Linked DNA regions of Homo sapiens: region 2 is linked to region 1. Evidence: promoter capture Hi-C in 16 types of primary human blood cells and fetal thymus (Javierre and others, 2016). All regions are on one chromosome and are shown on one strand. Each heading gives the region's core, a stretch centred on a gene start or on the middle of the fragment in contact. The rest is flanking DNA. Distances are from core to core; before and after follow the strand shown.

Region 1 (6,299 bases), core at 1,041-3,540:
CTTTACTATTTCCTTCAAGTAAATGCATAGATGGAGAATACATGTGTCATAGATGGAAAATGCTATGTCAAAATTCATGGGCATTTTTATGACTCTTGCTGTATTGTCCAACAGCTTTTCAGAAAGGTACCAATTTACAATCCTTCATGAAGGATTCACTACATGTTCTCCCCTACTGAGTGTTAGCTTCATTCACTTCACATATTTGAGAGATAAAAATGATATCTCACTGTTGTTTGGATGTGCATATCTTACCTCAAAGAGCTCTCACGTAAGATTTATTCTTTAAGAGCTATAATTTGTTTCTAAGCCTCCTGATTAAAAAGTCAATAAAGAGAAACAAATTGATGAAGAAAGATTATGATAATGAACTCAGATTAAAATTTAGTTTTAAAAAACCAAGAAAGGGACATATCAATTTGGATAAAAAGCAGGACACTCTTCATTTATGATAACCAAGAACTGCAGGGAAAGAATCCCTCTATCATTCAGTTGCCATTACTCCTCTGGCCATTTTCTGAAGTCTGTTCCCCAAACAATACAGGAGCTGGGGTAAAACACTGATGTTCCAGTTTTCTCTAATTCCTTATATATAATCTTATCGACATAATCCAACATATTCAATTTCATTTGGGGGTAGTGTATTTCAGAGAAACGAACTAAAACGCTGTCTTAAGTATTTGTGTGACAGGTCTAATGCTACTACAATAAAAATAAAGCTGCCATTTCCTAAGAGCCAGGCACTGTGCCAGGTAATTTACACACACAATTAATTTTTGCAATACTTAATTGCAGAAGCTATTAGATCTATTTCACTGATGAGAAAACTGAGGCTTAGATTTGTTTATTTATTTTTACTGTGATAAGAGTCACACAGCTATTAAATGAATAATCTGAAACTTGAATCCAGCTGTCTGGTGCAAATGCCAATGTTCTCTCACAAATCCCACCTTTGTTTTGTACATCATTTGACATTAATCATATATGAGATTATTATCACTATCCTTATTTAAACTTCAAGAAAGGAAAATTATGATAATATAGTAATATAACATTATCTTAACAAAATATCTTATACTTTAGGTATCTAACGTCCATTATAAGGTCAGAGACAAACAACCTGAATTTTTAAAGCAAACACTTTAAAACTCTAAAGCCATCACTAAAAACTAAGTTATATAAATGTGCAAGTTAATCAATTAAAACGGAAATAATAAACACTTCAAATATTCCTCTCTGACCCTTCCAAAAATTCTTCCACTTCATTCAGCCCTCTAATCATTAAAGCTGCCACTTTTTCGCCATCCAGAATCAAAGTAACTTGCTCCACGTCCTCAATTCCTTACAAAATTTGGATTTCATATCCCACCCCTCCTTACAATCAGTGCCTTGTAACCACCCTTTAATGACTACGTGGATCTTTTTGTCATTCTCGTCTGACCAGTCTCAGTGTCCCCAGACCCACTGACCCACACCAGACACTCTACAGGTGGAACTAGTCATGTGCTAGGAGCCAGCTCCCATCCACTCTGGGGGAGTGGCTTAAATTTCCAGGAATTTTATCGGCTGATTGTTAAATATAATCATCTCTAAAATATGTGTGTGTGTATATATATATATATATATATATATATATATATATACAGTTGCAGGTAAATGGATTAAGACAGAAATAATAAATACTCAAAATTCAATGCTTCTTTAGAAAATAATGTGATTGGCCGGGCACAGTGGCTCATGACTGTAATCCCAGCACTTTGGGAAGCCGAGGTGGGCAGATCACAAGGTCAGGAGATCAAGACCATCCTGGCCAACATGGTGAAACCCCGTCTCTACTAAAAATATAAAAATTAGCTGGGCGTGGCGGCACACACCTGTAGTCCTAGCTACTTGGGAAGCGGAGGCTGCAGTGAGCCGAGATAGCAAAAAAAAGCCCAAAAGAAAAAAGAAAATAACATAATTTGGCTACAATCTGTGCTCTTCAGGCCGTGTGCATATATTGTAGGCATATGGTGAAAATACGACGTAATAGTGAGCTACAGTACATCTCTTCTCAACCCTACATTTAGTGATGCCATGTGGAAAGTTTGAAACCAGCCACAGCGGGAGCATTTACACCATGGAAGTCAGCAAATGCTACACATCAGGGCCTTTTAACCAATAAGCCAGTTGTAAAGCATTTAATAGTATACCACTAGATAAGGCCCAACAACCTTTTTTCAAACAGGCCTTCCAAGTGATTCTGATTCTGCTAGAGCTTGAGAACCACCGGTTTAGAAGGCCTAGTATGCTCTTCTCCCAATATTCCAACTTCTTCCTCATCCACACACAGAGTACCGGAGTTTGGAGCTTGCTTCACTTCAAAACCAATCTATCACAGCTTCAAACCACCTGATTTCATCCACGGAAGGTACATGTTAATATGAGAAAGATGACTTTCCCTGGGACCCTGTTTTAAATTTTTGCCCAAGATTTTATAAAAATAAATTGTTCTAAGCAGATTATTTGTTTATTTAATCTCAATTTAGTATTACTTCTATTTTTAAAATATAATAAAATTACAAAATATTTTTCCCCTGAAAATCATATCTCATGGAACCATGTCATCCAGACTCCATTTAGAAGTTGGCTGCTGAATAATGAAGACCAGCAGATGGCAGCAGGGACTCTTGGAAAGAAAGCCTCACGTCTTCAAACCATTTTGGCTGAGAAAGAACATAAATAAGTCAAGCACATTTCTAAATAGTTTGCTGGTTCATTTATTCTTCGTGTTGGCAAACTGCCTTTCAAAATTCAGTATAGATTATATTCTATGATTTCATAAAAACATTAACAACCAAAAAAGTCATGTAGTCTTTTTACCCAAATTGGTTCATGCCAGACAAGAGTAGACAGATCCTTTTCACTGTGTTGTCAGATTTAAAATTTCAAATTCTCGCAGACAAGACTTAAATTATTTTACTTCATTAATATTTTTAAGTATATTTAATATTATCCCTTCTACAACCAGTTTTCCTATGAAGTTAGGAGTTAAGACAGGCAGATAAACAGAGTACAGATTATAAGCCATACAACCCTCACATTAAAAAAAAAAACAAAACCTGAAAGACTAGAGCATTTAAACAAATGTTTTAGTTATCATCGTATCACTAAAATCCATGCAAGACAATTAAATTGAGTCTGATTTTAAGAATAATACAGACTACCGTGTGCAAGAGTCTTGGTTGCATCATTAAGGGGAGCTATTTGCAAGGAGTGGTTCTGTATCTATATAGCACTGACTGTTAAGAATCCATCAGGAATCTTCAGGCTCAAGAGCGGTTCAGCAACAGCAGTAATCACAGCATGAAGAAGTGATTCTCTGACTGCTGAGCAGGGTGTGGAATCAGCACTGGAAATATTGGCAAAACTGTCCTGTTATTTTTTATAATGTCATTTCAATGTCTTCTGATTAACTTTTTTTTTTTTTTTTTTGAGATGGTGTCTCACTCTGTCTCCCAGGCTGGAGTGCAATGGTGCAATCTCGGCTCACTGCAACCTCCCCTCCTGGGTTCAAGTGATTCTCCTGCCTCAGCCTCCCAAGTAGCTGGGATTACAGGTACCCACCATCAGGCCCGGCTACTTTTTTTTGTACTTTTAGTAGAGATGGGGTTTTATCATGTTGGCCAGGCTGGTCTCGAACTCTTGACCTCAGGTAATCTGCCCTCCTCGGCCCCCCAAACAGCTGGGATTACAGACATGAGCCACTGCACCCAGCCTGATCAACTATTTTTAACTGGGCACATAAAGATGCACAGACACTAGGCAGGAGTGAATCCATAATGTGTTTTTAACATCATTTATGAATCAGCACTGTGCTAGGCACTAAGGAGGCTGAGATGAACATGATGTCATCCCTGGTTACAGGAGCTCATAGACTACTGAATTCTAAATTTAGAGGATATTCAGTAAGTTCCAGTATTTATTTCACAAAGTTGTTTTGATAATGAAATGAGATAACATTTTTTAAAATTACTTCACAAACCATCCCAGCATTGAGCAAGTGCCAGTTTGCCATTATTTCTAAATAGATGAGTGACAGAATCAAACTGATATCCAAAAAAAGAGCAATGGGCAATGATGTACAAAACAGATTAAATGGGGAAAGTAAACTTAGGCAGATTAATCAGCTGGAGTCCACTGTAATAACCCAGACAGGAGGTGGCAGAGTATGAAGTGTCTGGGGCAGTGGGAACAACTGAATGAAAAAATGAAGAAAGCACGCAGATGACTTTGTGGCTGACAGCAGGACAACAGAGAGGAAAGAGACAAAAACGCCAAAAGGATGATTCAGAGAATAATGTAATAGGAAACTCAAGTGAGTGAAGTAATTTAGGGTGAAAGATAAAGAATTTGACTTTTGACATGTTAAATTTAAGATGACAGTGAAACATCAGAGTGAACAGAGCAGAAGGAAGTTGGGAGATGTCGCAACTCACAAACTCCTACTCAACTTTTAATACCCACTGCCAATGTCCTTTCTTCCAGGAAGTCTTTCCTTGATAGTCCTCAGAGGTCATTTACTCACTTCTCCAGGTTCCAAAAGCAGTTTGTTTAACATCCTAGTTTAGCATGTTATATTGGGTTGGCATTATCTAACTCTGTGTCTGTCACTTCAATGAGACTCCATTAGAACTCATTAAAAGTAGAGAAAGTCACTGATCTTTATATCCTTAGTACCAGCACAGTACATAATTCATAATAGGTACTCAATAAATGGCTAATGAATGATGAAAGTAACCAGCTGATAAAAATAAATAAATATCAAAACATAAACATCATCTGCTTAAAGGAGATAGAAAACTGTTAGTAAATATAATTTCCAAGGAAAATAATTATTTAGAAATAAGAAGTGAGCTACGTATAGGACCATAAGAATAGATGCCTTAGGGAGTGCTGCAGTTTGGTTTGTTTGACTCTTCCAAATCTCATTTGAAATCTGATCCCCAGTGTTGGAGGTGGGGCTTAATGGGAGGTGTTGGGGTCATGAGGGAGGATCCCTCACTAATAGATTAATATCCTCCCTGGGTGGTGGGGATGAGTGAGTTCTCACTGTTAGTTCCTGCGAGAGTTCTCCTGCCAGCTGGTTGTAAAAAAGAGCCTGGCACCTCCCCGGCCCAGCCCTCTCTGGCCTCCTTTCTAGCCTTGTGATCCCTGTATTCCTTCTTCTTCTGCCATGAGTGGAAGCAGCCTGAAGCCCTCACCAGAAGTGGATGCTGGCACCATGCTTCCTATACAGCCTGCAGAACAACAAATAAACCTCTTTTCTTTATCAATTATCCAACCTCAGGTATTCCTTTATAGTAACACAAATGGACTAAGACAGGGAGTAGAGAAGAAAGAGAAGCTAGTAAAAGAAAAAGAAAATAAGCCAAAGCCTCATAGAAAAGGGATGCTTTTAAAAACGAAGGAAGACATGTTCCAAACAGATTTAAAAAGCTACCAACATCAAAGTGAATGGAGATAAAGAACATACCATAGAATTTCAAAGCCAAATTTAGTTGAGAAAATTTAGGTCTATTCCACCAAGAACAAAAATAAGAGTAATGAGTAAATGTAGTTAATTTAGTGAAGAAGCCAAGGCTATGGGAACAATCCATTCTTGTTATTTATATGCTGTACAAAGGCTGCAGAAAACCAAGTTCAGGCTGGGTGCCTATCTCAAGGCAGAGAAGTTGAAAATATTAAGAGGATTAAGAAGCTAATTTTAAAACATGATGAATAACAGAAATGTTAGCACAGTACTACTGATGAGGAGGTGAAGAGAATAAACAAAGCTCTCAAGGGCATTTTTCACAAGGAGTAATGCTATGTCAAGATAACCAACTTCTTGTCAAGTATGCATTACTTTAGGACCAGACAGACTTATCTCAGACCATCCTCCTGTGACTGTCAGGCCAGAGGATCCAGAGGACCTTGGTTCCTGGGGAGGTCCAGGTGTTTCATTTGGGGTATCTAGTGCCTTGGTGAAGGAGTGGGTCTAAGCATTAGTATTAGACCATCTGGATTCCTAATTTTATTCCAGGAAGTCCTAGTATTTGTGGATTGTTTAGGTGATTCCAAGAATCAGCCTAAGAAAGGACTCTTAAGATAATTTGCCTTCTTATTTCCAAATGAGGAGACTGGGGTCCCAGGAGGCCAAGTGGCTTGTCTAAGATCACACTGTTGATTATAGCAGACCAGACCAAGTCTAAAACCCAGGACTCTAGATGGCCAATCCTATAGTGTTTGTATTTTACACTTTTCAATATTGTAGAGGA
Region 2 (6,299 bases), core at 1,859-4,358, 270 kb after region 1:
TTCCAGTTTTGGGTTCCAGGTTTTTGCATGAGCATGTTTCCTTTCTTTGGGATAAATGCCTAAATGCAATTTTTCAGTCATATGGCAAGTACATAGTTTTTAAAATGTGGCTGTACCATTTTACATTCTTACCAGCAACATAAGTGATGCAGTTTATTCACATTCTTGCCAGTACTGGTGTTATCACGATTTTTTAGCTTAGTCATTACCATGGCATGTGGTGATATAACATTGTGGGTTTTTTTTTTTTTTTGTCTAATAGCTAATGATGTTGAAAATCTTTTCATATTCTTCTTTGTCATCTGTACATCCTCCTCCGTGAAATGCCACTTCATATCTTTTGCCTATTTTCAAATTTATTTTTTTTACTATTGAGTTTCGAGAGTCGTTTATCTATTATAGATACAAGTCCTATGTCAGACGTGTGGTTTGCAAATATTTTCTCCCTGTCTGTAGCTTGTCTTTTTCATTCTCCTAACAGGGTATTTCTTACTTGAACTGTTTTCTAAAAATATCCAGTAAATGTTAATTTTTCTAAGCAACTTTAAACAAAGTCAATTAGTAGTATAGAAACTATAGACTGTAAAGTATACTGCATTTCTGCTTAGAGTTCTCTATACACAGAGGCCTAAGACAGCACAAAATAAGTATGATTTATTTAGCCCAATTTTCCTGCATCGTTTCCATAAAAAATATTGAAGTGGCTCATAATATTAGTATTCAAACACCTGTCATACACATTCCATCCCTGGCCTTAACCTTTCCCCCTTTATCCCTTACGTATTTGTATTAGGATAAGAATATCCTCTCTCCCAAACTTCACATACCGGGGCCTGTCAAGGGGTGGAAGGATAGGGGAGGGATAGCATTAGGAGAAATACCTAATGTAGATGATGGGTTGATGGGTGCAGCAAACCACCATGGCATGTGTATACCTATGTAACAAATCTGCACGTTCTGTACATAATGTCCCAGAACTTAAAGTACAATAATAATAAAAAAAAAATCCCCTCTCCCTTCTTTTCCGAAACCAAGGGCCTCTCAAGACTAATGGGAGGAAAGTTTATTTATTATAAAACTCAAGATATTTTGTTTAATATAGTATGGGAGATATATGAGGGGAGCTTAATCTTAACAGTGCAATGACCTGATTTTTAAAATTAACCCGAGTCCCTGTCCAACAGCAGAGCATGACAGAACAAACTAATGCTACCTGCTCCAGATACAGAAAAGGTAGGACATTGGAAAATCTGGGTGGATGGGGGTAAAGGATTCAGATCAGCCCATAACGGCCACGTGATATACCCTGACGTCCTAGGATTAAGGCCATGAGCCATGGAAGGAGGTTGGAGGACAAATGAAATACAGAAAGTCATAATATCTACAACCCTGTGGTCTACAAAGGAGTTTGGTTATACTACATGAACCTGAAATAGATGATGGATTAAAGTCTCCATTATTCCATGTAATGATAAAACAATTTCAAGTGATCATAAGACCATTTTATAATGAATTCCTTCTTTCCACTGTAAAGGCCATAGTGTTAGATTGCTTACTCTTGTTAAGATTTACTGGATGCTAACAGTCCAGCACTGGCTAGGCATCGAGAACATAAAAATAAATGAGAAGTGTTCCTGCTTTTAAGATGTTCCTACTGTGGCAAACAGAGAGCTACAAAATATAATAATATAGAAGTATGTAAAAAAAAAAAAAAAAAGGAATAACCAATTCTGCCAGGTTGAATAGTAGGGTCACGAGGAAACGACGTTTGAGCTAGGTCTTGCTAGATGTTTTTAAATAAAATGTTTTTCTTCCATAATGAATATGAAACAATTAGAAAAAAAATGGGAAAATTGAGTTTTCAAGGATGAGTTCTTCAGGAAAAGAAAAGCTTTGGCTTTTAGAGAAATTGGATTCATTCATTCATTCATTCATATTCATTTAGCAAATATTCATTGCCTTCACTCCAAGCTAGATTCCGAGAATCCAACAAACGGTACTTGCCAAAGGGAACCTGTCGGCTGGTGGGATGATAGAGATCAGACAGTTGCCACACAATGTGAAAAGTGCCGTGAAAAAGTAAGCATAGGGTGATGTGGAAGCACATGGTTGCCTCTAATCTGGACAGACTGAAGACACTGAGATTTACAGTTAGGCCAGGGTCATTTGAAGCACTGCCTTGTTGTATTTGTATGTAATGACATTTCGAAACGTGGAATGAAAGGAAAAGTACAGGCAGACTATAAGAAGCTTCCACGGATGTGTCTAACTTTGCAAATGAACAAAAATCTAATGTAGACATATCCTGGAAACTTCTAGTTTGCCTGCACTTTTCCATTCCAAATGGAGGTTTGGACATTTAACAGAGGCCTCAAAGGGTTATCCTGTTAAGATTTTAGTATATACAGCAGGGGCTTGAAGGAATGTTGATTCCATTCCTCTTGGCCTCCTTTTATGAATCCAGTTCTGTGCTAGCTCTGTGAGTAAATGAAAATGCCTTCAAAATTGGGATGCCAGAGTTAGACAGCAAAGGAGCAAAGGAACCCGTATCAGCTAAGTGTGGGAAGGGAAATATGTACCAGTTGCTATATACTTTCACACGTTATTTTAACCTCATAACAACTCTTATCAATTCAGATGATGGAACAGGGTTAAAGAATAGAGGCTGAGCACCTGGCTGTCCACGGACACACTGAGCCAGCAGGAGCACCCGTGCCCCGCAGCAGCACCCAGGGCCCTCCTAGAGTTCCGGCCTTAACGCCTAGGAACGTGCCATTGGCTCCTGCGTTTCTCGTTCCCGTCGGGAACGCCACTGGCTAGTACCTTGCCTGGCCCCCAGTGCTCAATCCCTGGTAGTTGGGAGGACGAAAAGGAAATCCCTCTCTGGTCGGTCCTCACCGCAGCCCTGTGTCAGGCCGTCACACGGCGGCCTCCAGAGTCGAAGGCGCTCTGAGGAGATGCAGGTTGTGTCCAAAACCTCCCACCTCGGGGTCTCCTGAACGTCCCAACAAGCTCCTTGGGCCCTTAGGCGTTAGGCCAACCCCAGGCCTCGGCTGGCCCCGCCCACTCTCCGCGGCCGGAAGTGGCGGCGCCGAGTGAGGTAAATGCGTGCCCGGAAGCGCGACCTCGGGCGGTTGGAGGGGCTACCGGGTCTTACCAGTCCGTGGCGGGAGTCCCGGAGGACCCTCGACGGGGGAGTTGCCGAGAAAAGGCCTCGCCGGCATTCTTCCCCTCCACTGGGTCCTTTGAACCTAGTTTGGCTGGGACTCGCCTTCAGGCGGCGCGGAGGATTTCGAGGCCCTGAGGCGCGGCCCTTAATTTCCGGAAGTGGGGGCCGCGCCGCGCCGTCAAGATGTGCTCGACGCCCGGAATGCCGGCGCCGGGGGCCTCGCTGGCCCTGCGGGTGTCCTTCGTGGACGTGCATCCCGATGTGATCCCGGTGCAGCTGTGGGGGCTGGTGGGCGAGCGGCGGGGCGAGTACCTGCGGCTGAGCCGGGAAATCCAGGAAGCGGCGGCCACGCGCGGCCAGTGGGCGCTGGGCAGCGCCTCGGCCTCGCCCGGCGAGCTGTGCCTGGTGCAGGTCGGGCTTTTGTGGCACCGCTGCCGCGTGGTCAGCCGGCAGGCACAGGAGAGCCGTGTCTTCCTGCTGGACGAGGGCCGCACCATCACGGCCGGAGCAGGCTCGCTGGCGCCTGGGCGCAGAGAGTTCTTCAATTTGCCCTCGGAAGTGCTGGGCTGCGTGCTAGCGGGCCTGGTGCCGGCAGGCTGCGGCGCGGGCTCAGGCGAGCCGCCGCAGCACTGGCCCGCCGACGCCGTGGACTTCCTTAGCAACCTTCAGGGCAAGGAGGTGCACGGGTGCGTCCTGGACGTGCTGCTGCTCCATCGCCTGGTCCTCCTGGAGGTGCCTGATGTGTTCCAACAGATGCGGGAGCTGGGCCTGGCTCGGCGGGTGCCCGACAGCCTCTTCCGTTCGCTGCTGGAGCGCTATCTCACAGCGGCCACTGCTAGCGTGGGCTCCGGGGTCCCGGTTCTCTCGCGAGTCCCGCTCAAGCAAAAGCAGCCTGGTCTGGATTACTTCTATCCCCAGCTGCAGCTGGGCGTGACGGAGGCCGTGGTCATAACCCAAGTGTGCCATCCCCACCGCATTCACTGCCAGCTCCGCAGCGTCTCGCAGGAGATCCACCGCCTCTCCGAGAGCATGGCCCAGGTATACCGGGGTTCCACGGGGACAGGGGATGAGAACTCTACCAGTGCCACCTGGGAGGAGAGGGAGGAGAGCCCAGATAAGCCGGGCTCTCCGTGTGCATCCTGTGGCCTGGATGGACATTGGTACAGAGCACTGTTGCTTGAGACTTTTCGGCCCCAGCGCTGTGCCCAGGTGCTTCATGTGGACTATGGAAGGAAGGAGTTAGTGAGTTGCAGCAGCCTTCGGTACTTGCTGCCTGAATATTTTCGAATGCCGGTGGTGACCTACCCTTGTGCTTTGTATGGACTCTGGGACGGTGGGAGAGGCTGGTCTCGGTCACAGGTCGGTGACCTGAAGACACTGATACTAGGCAAGGCAGTGAATGCAAAGATTGAATTTTATTGCTCCTTTGAGCATGTGTATTATGTCAGCCTGTATGGAGAAGATGGGATTAATCTGAACCGTGTGTTTGGAGTACAGTCGTGTTGCTTGGCTGACCGAGTCCTTCAGAGCCAGGCAACAGAGGAGGAGGAACCAGAAACATCTCAGTCTCAGTCTCCTGCTGAAGAAGTAGATGAAGAGATTTCACTCCCAGCCTTAAGATCTATCAGGTTAAAGATGAATGCCTTCTACGATGCGCAGGTAGAGTTTGTTAAAAATCCTTCTGAGTTTTGGATTAGGTTGAGGAAACACAATGTCACCTTCAGTAAGCTGATGAGGAGAATGTGTGGTTTCTATTCCTCTGCCAGTAAGCTGGATGGTGTAGTTTTGAAACCTGAACCTGATGACCTTTGCTGTGTCAAGTGGAAAGAAAATGGTTATTATAGGGCCATAGTCACCAAATTGGATGACAAGAGTGTGGATGTATTCTTAGTTGACCGAGGCAATTCGGAAAATGTGGACTGGTATGACGTAAGGATGCTGCTTCCTCAGTTTAGGCAGCTACCAATATTGGCTGTGAAGTGCACCCTGGCTGATATTTGGCCTTTGGGAAAAACTTGGAGCCAGGAGGCAGTTTCCTTTTTTAAAAAGACTGTGCTCCACAAAGAATTAGTCATCCATATTCTTGATAAACAGGATCATCAATATGTTATTGAGATTCTTGACGAATCAAGAACAGGGGAAGAAAACATTAGTAAGGTAATTGCCCAAGCTGGATATGCCAAGTATCAGGAATTTGAAACAAAGGAAAATATCCTGGTAAATGCCCACTCCCCAGGGCATGTTTCAAACCACTTTACTACGGAGAGTAACAAAATACCTTTTGCCAAGACTGGAGAAGGAGAGCAGAAAGCCAAGAGAGAGAATAAAACCACATCTGTTTCAAAAGCTTTGAGTGACACAACAGTTGTAACAAATGGTTCAACTGAACTAGTTGTGCAGGAAAAAGTGAAAAGAGCATCTGTTTATTTTCCTCTTATGCAGAATTGCTTGGAAATTAAGCCAGGCTCCTCTAGTAAAGGAGAGCTGGAAGTTGGAAGTACAGTAGAAGTCAGAGTGTCTTATGTTGAAAACCCTGGCTATTTCTGGTGTCAGCTGACCAGGAACATACAAGGACTTAAAACTCTAATGTCTGATATTCAGTACTATTGCAAAAATACAGCTGCTCCTCACCAGAGAAACACCCTTGCTTGTTTGGCTAAGCGAACAGTAAACAGACAGTGGTCCAGAGCACTTATTAGTGGGATACAGTCTGTGGAGCATGTCAATGTAACATTTGTAGATTATGGAGACAGAGAAATGGTATCTGTGAAGAATATTTATTCAATTAGTGAAGAATTTCTGAAGGTTAAGGCACAGGCTTTTAGGTGCAGTCTTTATAATTTAATTCAACCAGTTGGCCAGAATCCCTTTGTTTGGGATGTAAAGGCAATACAAGCTTTCAATGAATTTATAGATAATGCATGGCAAAAAAATCTAGAATTAAAATGTACAATATTTGCTCTGGCTTCAATTAATGAAGAACTGTTTAACATTGTGGATTTGCTAACCCCCTTTCAGAGTGCATGCCATTTCTTGGTAGAAAAGAGACTTGCAAGACCAGTAAAACTTCAGAAGCCTTTGGAGTCCTCTGTTCAGCTACATTCCTACTTCTATTCTACACATGATATGA

What was found. The method cuts DNA at HindIII sites, captures the fragments that hold promoters and counts their contacts. A CHiCAGO score of 5 or more calls a contact.
Region 2: a contact is called between the fragment with the promoter of TDRD6 here and a fragment that was not itself captured in region 1, in 1 of 17 cell types (M1 macrophages). The highest score is 5.4, in M1 macrophages.

What each region holds. Positions count from the first base shown.
Region 1 is chr6:46,417,089-46,423,387 of GRCh38, forward strand. The region is part of intron 2 of RCAN2 (regulator of calcineurin 2); the gene reads right to left. Among named protein-coding and RNA genes, the nearest start is that of RCAN2, 71 kb to the right of the region's middle. The HindIII fragment of the contact is 9,849 bases long and covers 1-6,299 here.
Region 2 is chr6:46,684,777-46,691,075 of GRCh38, forward strand. TDRD6 (tudor domain containing 6) reads left to right here and starts at 3,109. Exons shown (of 4, transcript NM_001010870.3): 1 at 3,109-6,299. The coding sequence starts at 3,353. TDRD6-AS1 (TDRD6 and SLC25A27 antisense RNA 1) reads right to left here and starts at 3,389. Exons shown (of 2, transcript NR_134643.1): 1 at 3,158-3,389. The HindIII fragment of the contact is 3,266 bases long and covers 2,249-5,514 here.